2 separate regions of the Homo sapiens genome follow, and region 1 is linked to region 2. Evidence: promoter capture Hi-C in 16 types of primary human blood cells and fetal thymus (Javierre and others, 2016). All regions are on one chromosome and are shown on one strand. The core of a region is centred on a gene start or on the middle of the fragment in contact, and the rest is flanking DNA. Distances in the headings are between cores, read along the strand shown.

Region 1 (7,110 bases), core at 1,424-3,923, 260 kb before region 2:
ACTCCTCTGTTCCATGCGTTTATGTTGTATGCCTGATAAGTTCTGAAGTCAGGTAGTAAAAGTTCTCTGTTATTTTTGAAAATTGAGATTCTAGGTTTTCTGAACTTCCATATAAATTTCAGAAGCAACTTGTCAATTTCTACAAAAAAACACCTGTTTATTGGTTAAACTAGAGCCACCCCAGATCCTTCTTCATGTTAACATGTTTAGGAGAGATTGGCAAAATCCTCCTAGTTCATATTTGAGGATTCCTTTCCCTCTCTTCCCCTTGCAGGGGGTAGAGCAAGGAGGAGCCCGCGGTGAGCTGGTGTCTTGCATGGGGCAGGGGGTAGAGCGAGGAGCCCGCCGTGAGCTGGTGTCCTGCGTGGGGCAGAGGGTAGAGCAAGGAACCCGCCGTGAGCTGGTGTCCTGTGTGGGGCAGGGGGTAGAATGAGGAGCCTGCCATGAGCTGGTGTCCTGTGTGGGGCAGGAGCTGTGCAGAGTTTCCTTGCAGAAGGCTGATTGCAAAATGATGTCAGCTGGAGACCAGGGAAGCCTGTTAGAGGGGCTGGGGCTCCCAAGTGGGGTTGCTGCCAGGACTGGGGGAGCAGTGCCCAGGGAAAGGACGTGGGGCCATTGGGAGGACTGGGTTTGGGTGTTGGCGGTGGGGCCGCAGAGCCCTGTGGATGGACGAAAACAGCTCAGCCGGGGAGTTGGGGGCTGCCAGGCATCGGAGAGGAGCCTGGATGTGGAGGCCCCGAGTGCGATGGCGGTAGGGACACAGACTCCTGGGCGGGGATGGCCCCTGTGGCCTCAGCAAGCAGGGAGCAGGTGTCCCTGAGGCCTGTGAAGCCTGGCAGTGTCTTTGAGCAGGTGTGGTGACCGGGAGGGAGGATGGTCCAGTGTGGGGTTTGTGCGTTTTTTTTGTTTTTGTTTTTGTTTTTTTTCAGAGATTGGGTTTTTAGGTTAAGTCTCTGCTCATTGGGGCATTTTAGGGCAGAACTCTAATCATTCATTGTAAAGTATTTTGATAAAATTAAGGAAATCATACTTGTCACCTTAGAAAGTTTAACACACTTTTTCAAACAAGGTGTCACTATTTTGTTGTCTGGTTTAAGAAAAAAACCTGATACAGGTTGAGTCTCCCATATCCAAACTGCTTGGAAACAGAAGTGTTTTGGATTTCTGGGTTTTTTTGGATTTTGGAATATTTGCACGTATACATGACGAGATGTCTTGGGGATGGGACGTGAGTAAACGCGGAATCCATTTGTGTTGCACATGCACTGTGTACGCACAGGCCCAGGACCCGGAGGAGCTCAGATTCTTGATAGTCACCGGCAGCCCACTCCATCCCCGAGGGCTCGGAGCCCCGCACCGTGTGTCCTCAGCACCGTTCCTCCTCCAGGGTGATCCGCACACGCCCATCCTCCTCCCCAGGAAGAACTCCCCTCCACTCCCCTCCAGGCTACAGACCCGCCCCTCCCATTCTCCCTGCAGGATGCTGGCTACAGACCCGCCCCTCCGAGTCTCCCTGAAGGATGCAGGCTACAGACCCGCCCCTCCGCTCCCCTGCAGGATGCAGGCTGCAGACCCGCCCCTCCCAGTCTCCCAGCACAGCCTGCCATGGCACAGTGGGCATGGAGGATGTGGCTCCGCCTTGTTTCCGCCTGTGGCCTGATCCTTGCGCCCTCTCGATGACATGGCTGGGGGTCTTGGTGGGCCATGGGGCATCCCGCCTGGAAAGGTCCCATTGACAGATGCAGCTTGGGTGGCTGTCTCATGTCCGCGGGTCAGGGTGGTCGGAGCAGCCCGGCTGGGACGGGAGTGTGGGGGCTGTGAGCACCTAGGGGCGGGTGCTGAGTGCTGGGCGGCCTCATGTCTGCAGGGCAGGGTGGTCGGAGCAGCCCGGCTGGGATGGGAGTGTGGGGGCTACAGGCACCTAGGGGTGGGCGCTGAGTGCTGGGCGGTCTCATGTCCACGGGGTGGGGTGGTCGGAGCAGCCCAGCTGGGACGGGAGTGTGGGGGTTGCGAGCTCCTAGGGACACTGAGTGCCGGGCAGCCTCGTGTCCGCGGGGCGCGGTGGTCGGAGCAGCCCGGCTGGGATGGGAGTGTGGGGGCTACAGGCACCTAGGGGTGGGCGCTGAGTGCTGGGCGGTCTCATGTCCACGGGGTGGGGTGGTCGGAGCAGCCCGGCTGGGGTGGGAGTGTGGGGGCTGCGGACACCTAGGGTCAGGCGCTGAGTGCTGGGTGGTCTCATGTTCGCAGGGTGGGGCGGTCGGAGCAGCCCGGCTGGGGTGGGAGTGTGGGGGCTGAGGGCACCTAGGGGCGGGCGCTGAGTGCCAGGCGGCCTCTGGTCTCATAGCCTTCAGATTTCAGCACTTCTTCCATGGCTTCTGCCAGAAGACCACTGTTTGGACAAATAAAACAGTTTGTGTTTATATAAAACGAACATTACAGTCATTTTGTCAGGAAAATGTAGTTGCATCAGCCTCTGTCTAGACTGGGAATGATATGAAAGTTTTAGATTTTATAAATTCTCTAACGGAAATGTCAGAGGATCACATATAAATAGTGTGTTTTGAGACAACTTTATGTTATCCCCAAGTCTCCTCTTTGGACCAGACATCCTTAGTTTTTTCAGCTGTTCCACGGGTGGCACGGGGGTGGTGAGGTGTGGTGGCGTGTCATTTTTCATGAGAGACACCTGTAGGTGGAAAGTCCTTTCATTTTATAGACAAAGAAATGCCCTCAAGGGGTGATGTCACCTGCCTACAAAGTTATGCAAGGGTTAGTGTAGAATTGGTACAAAAACCTAGATTTTAAAATTCTTACTTGGGGGCTCTTTTGATAAACCAAGAGATTTTAAAGTGTTGTTCCCCTTGTGTTTTTTTGTAGAGCGGTTCTGGTGAGGTTGGAAGGATGCAGCCACCCGGTTGTCATGAAAGGCCTGTGTGCTGAATGTGGCCAAGACCTCACCCAGTAAGTATCCGGAAGAGTGAGATCGCTGCCTGCTGGGGCTCGAGGTGGTGGCCTCCGGGGAGTCCGAGAAGCTGTGCTGGGAACACAGTGAGGCCCTTGGTTTCCCAGCGGCAGATGCAGACGCCTCCCTTGGGCCCCATACGAGTCACACTCAATGGGTTTCCCTGGAGGCAGTCCTTCCTGCTCTGTGACCCCAGCCTCATGCCATTCTCAGGTGTGGTGGGGGGGCATGCTGGAGGGCCGAGACCTGTTTTCTCCTGACTGAAGACGCAGATCGCTGAGTGCCTGGAGCAGCCCCTCCCTCTGGGCCGCTGAGCGCCCCATGCTGGGGGCTGCTTTACCTCTAATGCCAAGTGGGAGGTGCGGCAGCTACTTTTTCTGCGTTTTCATGGTTGAGGGCCTGTTTCTGCTTCTGTGTGACTTTGCAGTTTGTTTTCATGAAGGACTATGGCTCTGTGTGTTCATGAGTGTGGCCACGAGCTCAGTGTTTCCACCAGTTTTCCTGTCTGTGGAGAATGTTTCCACGTTTGCCGACAGAATCAAGTCTGTGCTAAGATAGCAGCGTGTGTCCGTTAAAACATCAGCTAGAATCCTGTCACTTAGAGCCCAGTGTGCATCTGTGCGCAGAGACTCAGCTGAAAGCCCTGAACCTGTCCTTGCACTTGCAGGTTGCAGAGTAAGAACGGGAAGCAGCAGGTGCCGCTGTCCACGGCGACCGTGTCCATGGTGCACAGCGTGCCGGAGTTGATGGTGAGCTCCGAGGTGAGCCGGGCATCAGTGGCGGCGTGTTGGGGAAGCGTGGTGCTCTGAGGAGGGCGGCTGCAGGAGGAGGGTGGCTGCAGAAGCACGGACGTGTGGTTGTCATCGTCGTTACTGAAACAACCCCTCATCACACGGATGACTTATGGGACTGCGGCCTTCCTGAAGCAGGGACGGTTGCCCTTGGTTCTCCACAGACAAGTCTGCCTGCAAAAGCGACTCAGGGCCCCGAGGCTGTGTGACCTGCGTGTCGGGAACACCAGGTGCTGCCGCCGCAGCTGTGAACAGCCAGGCTCAGCCTGGGTTCCCTTGAGCCAAGTCCTAACTGGGGAGGGATGTGACAGCTGCTCATGGAGCTCAGGAGGTGGCCGCGCTGCCGAGGCATGTGCTGGATGACCCGGGAGGGCAAAGCGCATATTGGGGCAGATAATGGCGAGGAGTCGGTGGCCGGGGGTAGGGGCGGGGGGACGTGGTTGGTAGCACCTTGTTGGCTACAGGAGCGGCTGCTGCTGGCACCATTGGGAAGCTGGCTCGGGAGAGTGGGCACATGCAGGGGCGGGTTGGGGGTCCCAGGAGTGTTTGCCTTGTAGCCGACAGGAGAGCCCATGGGGGGTACGCAGGGTGGAGAGGACGGGCAGGTGTTCACGTGCCCAGTTAAGAGTGAGATGGGTTTTTATCTTCGAGTGCTACGCCTCGTTTATGTATTTCAGGAGTTGCTGGGGCACTGTGGGTCAGCGGCTCCGGGCACCTCCTGTGCTTGAGGCAGACACCGTCTCCCCGACCTCGCTTCACCCCGTGGGTGAAAATGCTCTGGGAGCTGAGAAAAACTAGTTTGTGATCTTACAGACTTTCAGGGCTGCACAGTTTTGTAAATAGGTAAAACACTTTCCAGTGTTACGATTTTAGTAAATTCGTGCTTTTAAATGATGGACACCAATTTCAGTCTATCTTTTTATGGGAAAAGCAAAATGCCAGATACAGGATTCTGGGTTTTCTGAATTACCAAACTTTAAACAAATGTAAAATGTGTATGCGTAAACCAAAGCTGGCAAGTTTGAGGGTGAAGGGAGGAGGAAGTACCCCCCATCTTTCTGGCACCTGCCAGCCCTTCCGTGCGTTTCCCTTCGGGGATGGGCACGGGAGGAGGTCCCCCCTGAGCGGGACCAGGATTTTGTTGTGAAGAGTGAGGGCCAGTTACAGTGAGAAAGGCAGCGTGGTGCGTCACATCCCGTGTCCCATGCCGGGCTCCTGATGCCGGGGTGACCGGGCCCTTGTTAGGAGCTCCACTCTGGGCCCCGCGTGGAGGGACACCCCGATGCGCTGTTGCCAGGCCCCCGGGTCTCTTCGAGGCACAAGAATAGGCTGAGCGTGGAAGGTTCTGAGCGCGGGAGATTCTGAGCGCATTGCCCTTACCAGTCTCTGCTGCCCAGCTTGGGCCACCCAGCGTCTCCCAGCCGGCCGACTTGGTTTCTTCATTAATTTTGCAGTTCACTTTTATTGAGCACTCCATACTGTTGAATCCAGCTTTTATAGAAACAACCAGTTTCCCTTCCCCCTCCGTTTTCATTGGCTCATGTATTTAACTGAATTATAAAATTGTGGTCACAAGCGAGGTTGCCGTGACCAGGTTGGTGACCCAGCCCTGCCTCTCGGCCTGTACGGCGCAGTCCATGGAGCGTGGGGGGCTGGAGGGGAACACATTGATATAGTTTTGTGTTTCTCGATGAAATGGAGTTTTACCTTGGATGCAAACATACTGACTTTGTCATTTCTTGTTTCTTTTTAATTGTAGCAAGCTGAACAGCTGGGAAGAGAAGACCAGCAGCGACTGCACCGAAACCGGAAGCTGGTGCTCATGGTGGACTTGGACCAGACGTTGATTCACACAACCGAGCAGCACTGTCAGCAGATGTCGAATAAAGTGAGTGCAGTCAGCATCTACGGACAGTTTCCCAGGAACCGCGGGTCCTAGAATTTTGATTCAGAAGTGTGTTCTCTTGTTTTTTAGATGATTTCCCGTAGGTCAGCCTGGGTTTGGAAAGCAGACTTGCTAGTTCTGGGCGTGGGCCGTGTGTCTGCTGGGCTGTTGGGGAGCATCCGCGGCTCCCGGGCAGACATCCCGACGCCCACTGTGTCTCACGCTTCCTTCCGTGTGTGTGGGAACCCTTTGTGTGCCTGCCCGGCACGATGTCGGAGAAGGCAGAAACGTCCCGAGCCTGTGAGGATGGTGTGGTGGATGGTGCGAGGCGTGTCCTGAGAGGGGCAGTCTTGGTGGGGAGGACGTTGGTGTTGGATGCCTTTATGTTGCTAGGATGTCAAGGGCAGGTGGACGCCTGGGTTTGTGCTTGGGAGAACTGGGCTGGAGGAAAAGCCTGGGTGGGAGGTGACCAGCGTACATTCTCCAGGGGAAACACGGGGAAATGCAGGGTGAGGGCAGAACCCTGTTTAATGCACACGAAACCCTTCCTGTGCCTCAGCTGTGTCCTCAGGATGGAACCAGAGAAGCTGAATTTCTAGACCGAAGGCTTTGAATGTCTGTGCCCAGAGGCTTGCGCAGAGGCTTGTGTCGGCCTAGACGGTGGCCATCAGGGAGGCCCTCACCAACACTGAGTTGTTTTTTAAGTGTTTGCTATTGAACAGTATGTGGACTCTGGCGTTAGATTTGGGATTTCAGAGGCCCATCAGTTCTGACCTTACCAGTTCTAAAGGTTCCTGGGGATCCTGCAGGTCCCAATAGCAGACACCCAGCAGGCTGGAGGATGCACCACGGAGCCGGGCATCCTCCGCTGCTGAATGCCGGGGCGTGGTACCAACAGCTGGGACAGATTGATGACAGTTACACATAAGTCAAATTTGTGACAAGCTTCATCTGGAAGAAGTTTGGTTAAGTTTGGCCTTGTAAGTCAGTCAGGTGGTCAGGGTGAGCTGCACAGACCCCCCAGGTGGCACAAACTCTCGCGTTTTATGCTGTTTGCAGAATGGAGAGAATCGAGTAACTGCCGTGCTGCACAGGAGTTTGTTTAGGGCCGGAATTCAGGTCTAACCCACAAAACAGCTTCTATTTCTGGCTGTGTTAGTCATTTGTGTGTCTCGTGGCATCTTACACAGCAGTCTATTCTTCTGTGCAGTATAAACTGTGACTAGATATTTTCAGATTGCTTCGTTCATACCCGCTACTCTACTCACTAAGGTTTTTTGTTTGTTTGTTTTTGAGACAGAGCCTCACTCTGTCACCCAGGCTGGAGTGCAGTGGCAGGATCTTGGCTCACTGCAAGCTCTACCTCCCGAGTTCACGCCATTCTCCTCCCTCAGACTCCCAAGTAGCTGGGACTACAGGTGCCCGCCACCACACCTGGCTAATTTTTTGTATTTTTTTTAGTAGAGACGGGG
Region 2 (7,718 bases), core at 4,724-7,223:
ACACTGCAGGAGCAGGAGTGCAGGGGGCACGGGCACTCTGCCCACAGGCTGGCTCCAGCCCCCACACCGGCCCCCTCCAGGCCTCAGCCTCTGCACTATAAAGCACGATCGCAACCCCCAAGGCTGGAGGATACAGCCAAGCTCACAGTCACTTCCAGGGCCGTTCTCCACTGGCTACCAAGCGGCCTGGGTGCCGGTCAACCCACCCACAGAGACCTGAGGCTGAGGAGGTGACGCTGGGCAAGCATCTAAAATAGGCCAGTCCCCTGGGACACACGGAGGCCACTTCACACCACGTTCACCTCCAGCAATGAGGCTGCACGTGAGCCATTTTGGCCACTCTGTGTGAAAGGCCACCTGCATTTTTTTAAATGTTTAACAGAAGCAATGAATGACGAGACGGAGGAGGAGGCGGGTGAATCAAGGTTTGAGCTTCCCCATAATCCACACATCAAAAATCAAATCTAGAGAAACTCGATATGCACAGTAAAGAATGAGGCCTTTTAAAATGAAGTGACAGGGTGCCCGGGGAGATAGTAAACTAATTTTAGGGTGAAGACAAAGAAAAACACAAAATTTCAAAAAGCACAGTGTTCCACAAAAGATGCACAAGGAACAAAATGAAAACGAAACAGAATCCAGCAGCATTAGTAATTTTAAAAGCTAATTAAAATAGATGCCACATTTACTTCTCAACTTAACTTTTTCTTCCTTTAGTGATAACAGTCTGTGCTGGCCATGAACTTAGGAGAGCACTTTTCCTCTCCTGCCGGAGGGCGTGACTCCCATGCCTCTTCTCACGGCAGGTGCCAGGCAGCCCACCTGTGTGGTGCAGGAGCCTGCTCCTCGGGAAGCACCAAGATACCTCGTCTAAGGTGGACTCTGCAGGTGATCATGCCCAGGTGCCCATCCACAGGGAGAGACAGTATAGAGGGTGCCCCATAACTGACCAGGCCCACAGAAAAACTTCTCCATGTTCCAAAATCTCACAGAAAAACTCAAGCAGGGCTGGGCACAGTGGCTCACACCTGTAATCCCAGCACTTTGGGAGGCCAAGGCAGGTGGATCACGAGGTCAGGAGTTCAAGACCAGCCTGGCCAATATGGTGAAACCCCGTCTCTACTAAAAATACAAAAATTAGCTGGGCGTGGCAGTGGGCGCCTGTAATCCCAGCTATTTGGAAGGCTGAGGCAGGGAACTGCTTGAACCCGGGAGGCGGTGGGTGCAGTGAGCCGAGATTGTGCCACTACACTCCAGCCTGGGCAAGAGCGAGACTCTTGTCTAAAAGAAAAAAAAAATCCAGCAGAAGAGAAGCTTTGTAGCTTTGTATCTACTCTTAGGCACCACTAAAGCTATCACCTTTAGTAACAAAATGTTATGACCTCTCTGATACAATGTTTTCATTCCTCCATCTAAGAGTGCTCCAGCCTGGGTGCTACTGTGGGTGGAGCTGAGGCTCCCAGGGCCCTGCAGCCCAGTGTGGCCTGATCCCCGCCTGGCCTCTCCGCTTTTCCTCCACATACTCACAGCTGGCAAACACCAGCTATGAGGCATCATTTAGCCCTTCTCCTGGCTTCTGGCACCAACCTGCCAAATCCTGAATGTTGGCATTCCACAGAGTGTGATCTGCTGAATGCTGGTTTTGCAAAATGGTAGTAAGGACTGTAAGAAACAAAAACATGAGTGACCTATGTTTCAGAATCCCTGGGTTTGTACTGTTAAAGCAGCCCCTGCAGGACTGCAGAGCCCCATATGCCATGCACCCCAAATCCCCAACGGGGAGCTGCCCAGAGGGACTGGAGCTCTGAGGACCATGCCCCAACAGCTTTGGAGGCGTGAAGATTCGAACTCCACCTCTGCTCTCCCCGTCTCCCGCCCCTTCTCACCAGAGCCCAGCCCAGCCCCACCTCTGCTCTCTGCCCCCACCCCAGCCCCTTCTCACCGGAGCCTGCCCCCGCCCCACCTCTGCTCTCCTGCTCCCACCACCCCCAACCCAAACACCGAGTGTGCCTGCGCATGCGTGGAGCTGGGGTTGTGTGTGATGCATCCCGCGTGTCACTTCTGCTAAAGCACAAATCCTCTGCCCTACAAACCATGAAATCAAAGAGGCTGTGAACCTACAAAGCCTGGAGAGGGGAAGCCAGGAGTGGGGGGTCACAAGAGGCTCCCAAGAGAGAAACAGAAGGGGTCATCATCCCCCTCTGCACAGCAGGACCTGGGGACCGGGTGGGCACAAGAGGATGTGTGGTAGGTAGGGAGGTGGGCTTCGCTGTGTGGAGTGCAGGGATGGCGCATCCTCAGGCTGGAGGGACGCCCAGCAGGAACGAGCGCCCTCTGCTCTCCCCGCTTTCATCCCACCATCTTCTGGAACACACTGGGGCCCTGCGTGTGCACTCAGTGGTCACAGAAGCCATGCATGACCAGGACAGCCCAGGATGTTGATTCTATGAAGAGACCCATGGACAAAGTTCAGAATTCCCTGGAAGGCTGCCCTGTGCTCCACAAAGAAAGAGCTCAAGTGTCTCTCCAAGGCCTGTAAGCAAGAACTCCCAGTTCCAGCTTCAAACCTCTACGTCAGTGCCAGTTAGGTCATGAGGCAATGACAAGATGGCACCAGGAAACTGGGTTAATCTCTGACTTCTCCAAACCGATACTTAGATGGACATTAGATAGATTCTTTTCTTTCTTTTTTTGAGACAGGGTCTCTCTCTGTTGGCCAGACTGGAGGACAGCTCACTGCAGCCTCGAATTCCTGGGCTTAAGTGATCCTCCTTTCACAGCCTCGCAAGTAGCTAGGACTACAGGTAATGCCCCCACACCTAAGCTAATGTTTCAATTTTTTGTAGAGACGGTGTCTTGCTGTGTTGCGTTGGTTGGTCTTGAACTCCTGGCCTCAAGTGATCCTCCCACCCCGGCCTCCAAAAGTGCTGGAATTACAGGAGCGGGCCACCGTGCCCAACCTAATTTATTTTCTTTTAGCAACTTTGAACTATGAGCATACTGGGGAGGGAAACCTCTAAGCGGAACTTCTTTCCCGTATGGTTATCCACTCTCAGGCAATTTTCCTCCATTATTTTGGAGAGAATTTATTCTATAACCCTGAAGACGAGTGCAGCGCTCCTTCACAACACACACGTGAGCTGGGGCTGTAGCAGGTGGCCTGCCGACCAGCGTCTCCCCAACCCCCACAACATGCACTCAAAGTAAACAACAGCATTAGACAATTAGAAACCTACTTCCAGTCAACCTTACGCTCACTGAGGCCACTGCAGCACCGCCAGCCACGTCTCCAAAGCAGGCGATGGGAAAGAAAGAAGGAGTCTCCAAAATGAGCACCCCTGAACCTCCCTCAGATGCAGCCTGGCCCAGAGACAAACCTCGAGACGGGACTCGGACCCAAAATCCTCCTCCGAGGTCGTTGCAGGGGACAAACCTCCCTGCCTCAGAGACAACTCTGGGGAAGAGGCAGCCAACCCACTCGCTCACCTAAAAATCCCTGGCAGGGGCAAAACTAACACCCAGGGACACATGGACCAATGGCTGCCCATGGCCAGGGCTGGGATGAAGGCCACGGAGCAGGGAGCACCCCGGCTCATGAACACGGGACACCTCAGCATCAGAACTCATCAAATGGACACGAAAGGGGTGTATTTCATGGAATGCAAATCACACCTCAATAAGGTTGACTTAAAAACTAACAGGCGGGCCAGGCGCGGTGGCTCACGCCTGTAATCCCAACACTTTGGGAGGTCAAGGTGGGTGGATCATGAGGTCAAGGGATCGAGACCATCCTGGTCAACATGGTGAAACCTGGTCTCTACTAAAAATACAAAAATTACCTGGGTATGGTGGCAGGCACCTGTAGTCCCAGCTACTCAGGAGGCTGAGGCAGGAGAATCACTTGAACCCAGGAGTCAGAGGCTGCAGTGAGCCGAGATTGTACCACTGCACTCCAGCCTGGCGACAGAGCAAGACTCTGTCTCAAAAAAAAACAAAACAAAACTAACAGGCAAAGAAGCAGGTACGTGATTACTCAGTGACCAGAGTCAGAAGCAGAGTTCTTGACACCAGCTGCCTGGACTCCTTCTCTCCACCCCTCCACCAGGCCCTCTTCATAGGAAGAGCAGCAGACACCTTCCAATCTGCCCGGACAGAGAGGCTGGGATCACCCAGAAGAAAGAAAAATTTCAGACGTTTTTGGCCTTAGAATGCAGCTGTGAGACCTCATTTCCTCTGAAAACTCACCCTCCCAATTATGTCTGCCTTCAACAACTGTTAAAATTAATTTCAATTTCCTTAGCCTAATACAAATACAAAGAGGAAGTTGGGGAGAGGAACAAGACAGTCTCCAGAGAGAGTGACTTCCTATTTAAATAAGGCAGGCCAGGCGCCGTGGCTCAGCTTGTAATCCCAGCCCTTTCAGAGGCCCAGTGGGGAGGGATGCTTGAGGCCAGGAGTTCGAGACCAGCCTGGGCAACAAAGTGAGACAACCCCCCACTCCCCTGTCTCTACAAAAAATACAAAAAAAACAATTAGCCGGGTGTGGTGGTGCGCCTGTGGTCCCAGCTACTCGGGAGGCTGAGATGGGAGGATCACCTGAGCCCAGGAACGTGGAGACTGCGGTGAGCTGTCATGTCATCATGCACTTCAGCCTGGACCACAGAGCAAGACCCTCTCTCAAAACAACAAAGAAAAACTATACAACATGAAAAAGGAGGGCAGGAACGGCTCCTCTCCACAGGCAGGCCTAGGCCAGTGCCCAGCTGAGAGGTCCCTGCTAAGTACCCATGTGGAACATCATGCAAGGAGGCGGATCTGGAGATTTTCTCTGAGATTCTGTGCTCCAACCCCACCGTTTTTCTGGAAAAATAATCTCACCCTAAGAAGTGACTTGCCTGCAGCCACGTACCCCATCCACGGCAGAGTGGGACGCTGGCCCAGCAGGGAGGTGTGGACCCTGCTGCTCCCCCGGCCTCAACCAGAAACCCCAAAGGAGAAACCCTCTTCTCCGGGTGCAGCCCAGGAAAGCAAGCCCCCAACTTACCAGAAGAGTATCCGCAAAATGTTGGCCACCAGCAGCACCAGGCACACGTAGGTGGAGAAGCCGTCGGCGTTCTGCGTCCTGCGAATGTCCCGATACTGCGGGACGTAGGGCACCACCCCTCCGAAGACCATGGCCGCGGCCGCGCCCCAGGACACCAGCTGGTGCAGTGGCACCAGGAGCCAGTCCAGGCCCTCGGCCTCCATCGCAGCGCCCGCCTGGCCGAGGCTGTCACGGGCTCCGCGCCCCGCGGGCCACCGGCCGCCTGCTCATCGCCGCTCCGCGCGCTCCTGCGGCCTCGGGGCCTGCGGGGAGCGGGGAGCTGCTCGAGTTCCGCCCAGGGAGGCTGGGGCGGCGCGCACGGACCCGACCCGACCCGCGCCAGCCGCAGGACCCGAGGCAGAGCGGGGGCGACCGGGGCCCGGGGCGCGCGAGGAGCGGCCCCTGCCTGGGACGGGGGGGTGTCTGGGGGTCCCGAGACGCTCCCGGAGGGGGCTGGGGAGGGGTCCCAGCGCCGGGGTCGAGGACGGGCGAAGCCCCTGGGGTCACCGCCCGGGTGCGCTTAGCCGGCGGGGGTCCACGCGCGCCCCGGGATGGGGTGGGGGAGGGGGCGCAGGGCCCAGGATCGGGGCGCACTGTTCGGGGGAGGGTCACAGGGCCTAGCATGGGGGCGCACGGCTCGGGGGAAGGGGGCGCAGGCCCAGGATGGGGGCGCACGGCTCGCGGGAGGAGGTGCCGGGCCGGGGACCCCACAGGACCAAGCCAGGGGACTGAAGGCCGCGACCAACTGCCCCGGCCCTGCGTCCTCGGCCGCCCTAGGCCGCCCCCCGAGGACCCCGCGCCGCCCCCGCGCTCCTTACCTGCGCCCCCAGCCCCGCGCCCAGCGCCCCGCGTCCCCGCGCCGCTGACCCGCGCGCGTCTCGGCGTCAGTCCGCTCAGGCGCCGGGAAACCCCGCCCCGTGACGTCACAATGCCGGGCCCCGCCCACGCCGGAGCTGCGCGGAGGCGCCGCGGTGTCCTAGAGCGCGCTGGGCAGGGCGGGCGCAGGCGGGGCCGGGAGCCGGGGCTGTCGGGGCGGTGGGGGCGCGTGGCTCCTCCCGCCCGGTCGGGAAATACCAGCCGGGCGGGGCCGGTCCCTCAGGCCTGGCGCCCACGTTAACCCGTCTCCAGCTGTCCCGGCGCGCGGCCATCCAAGCGGAGGGCGTCGTCCTGGAGGGCCGGGGGCGCGGGGTCCGGACGCCCCTCTCACGCGTGTCCTGAATGCGGGCCACCCGGGGACGAGTCTCGTCCAGCTCTGTCCTGACCCAGGAGACCCGGGGACCCGGCTCGGAGTTTGCAGCGCCCAGAGGCGGCCGGGGTCTCGGGAAACGGAGCGCCCCCCGCGGGTCTCCGCTCCGATGCAAGTGCCCCACGAGCAGATGCGCCGGGGCCGTCGCCGGGGGGCCGGCTGGACGCGCGGCCGTCACCGTGGCCATTGTCATTATCGTGGTTGCGGCCACGGTCGCTGTCGCTGCAGAAACGCGGGGCGGCCTCTCCCCATCCCCGTGTAGTTCTCCGGGCTGAACCGTTGGGCGCCTATTTGCAGAAAAGGCAGCTCCTGAGCCTCAAGACAGACTCGGGGGCCAGGCGTGCGTGAAGCCCGGGCCCTGCTGCCGGCCTCGCGTGCCAAGCCAACTCCGAGCCCCACACCCGCCCGCGGGGAGCTGCCCTCGCCCGGGACCCTCTTGGCCCGCGCGGGTGAGGACTGAGGGCGAGGGGCGCGTGGATGAGGGGCGCGCGGGTGAAGAGTGAGGGGAGCGCGGGTGAAGTGTGAGGGGAGCGCGGGTGAGGGGTGAGGGGCGCGCGGGTGAGGGGTGAGGGGAGCGCGGGTGAGGGGTGAGGGGTGAGGGGAGCGTGGGTGAGGGGTGAGGGGTGAGTGATGCGCGAGTGAAGGGTGAGGGGCGCCTGGGTGAGGGGTGAGGGGTGAGGGGCGCGCCGGTGAAGGGTGAGGGGAGCGTGGGTGAGGGGTGAAGGGTGCGCGAGTGATGGGCGGGTGTGTGTAGGGTGAGGGACGCGTGGGTGAGGGGCGCGGGGGTGTGAGGCGAGGGGTGCACGGGTAAGGGGCGAGCCGCGAGGTTGAGGGGTCCACGCTGAGGGTTGCTTCCCCGCCAGCCGCGGCCTCTTCTCCACGATCCCGGCCCCCTGCCCCCTGCCCCCTGCCCGACTGGTTTTATGGGGGATCATAAGGACAGTCACCACCTAACTAGGAGCAAATCCCCAACAATCGAGGAAACAGGGCGCTCCTGCCTTGCGCCCCCAGGCTGGCGTTGGAACTTCTTTAGAGCCAGCGCTGCGGAGCCCCAGCACCAGGAACGTAGAGGTGAGTAAAAGGCACAGCAGGAAGCCTGGGAGAGAAAAAGCAGCTGCCCCTGCTCAGCCGCGCCCTAGCCTGAGCCCAGCAGCCTTTGGGATCATCTGTCCTCTCTGCCCTGGAGGTTGGAGTAAGCTCCGGACCTCCTTGACCCTCACGGGAGCACTGGGGTCCCAGACGCTATCCTCGGTTATCTTAAATCCAGAGGCTGTGGAGGCATGGGGCAAATTGTGCCCGCAGCCTGGGGCCTAGAGCTGCATCTGTGCACGGGGCCTCCAGGAGCCCGGCTCAGTGGACGAAATCTGGCATGCTCGGACGTCACCCCAC

What was found. Contacts are between HindIII fragments. The CHiCAGO score rates a contact against its expected background, and 5 or more counts as called.
Region 1: a fragment that was not itself captured here is called in contact with the fragment with the promoter of SLC66A2 in region 2 in 5 of 17 cell types (neutrophils, monocytes, M1 macrophages and 2 more); the score reaches 12.7 in neutrophils.

What each region holds. Positions count from the first base shown.
Region 1 is chr18:79,692,348-79,699,457 of GRCh38, forward strand. CTDP1 (CTD phosphatase subunit 1) reads left to right here. Exons shown (of 13, transcript NM_004715.5): 2 at 2,878-2,961; 3 at 3,630-3,723; 4 at 5,513-5,641. Among named protein-coding and RNA genes, the nearest start is that of CTDP1, 16 kb to the left of the region's middle. RefSeq lists enhancers at 5,456-5,957, 5,958-6,457. The HindIII fragment of the contact is 7,815 bases long and covers 1-6,581 here.
Region 2 is chr18:79,945,680-79,953,397 of GRCh38, forward strand. It overlaps SLC66A2 (solute carrier family 66 member 2), which reads right to left and starts at 5,974. Exons shown (of 6, transcript NM_025078.5): 1 at 5,902-5,974; 2 at 5,045-5,346. The coding sequence starts at 5,247. It overlaps LOC124904336 (a long non-coding RNA gene), which reads left to right and starts at 7,130. Exons shown (of 2, transcript XR_007066429.1): 1 at 7,130-7,400; 2 at 7,597-7,718. RefSeq lists silencers at 5,256-5,375, 5,416-5,495, 5,816-6,325, 6,456-6,505. The HindIII fragment of the contact is 12,677 bases long and covers 1,313-7,718 here.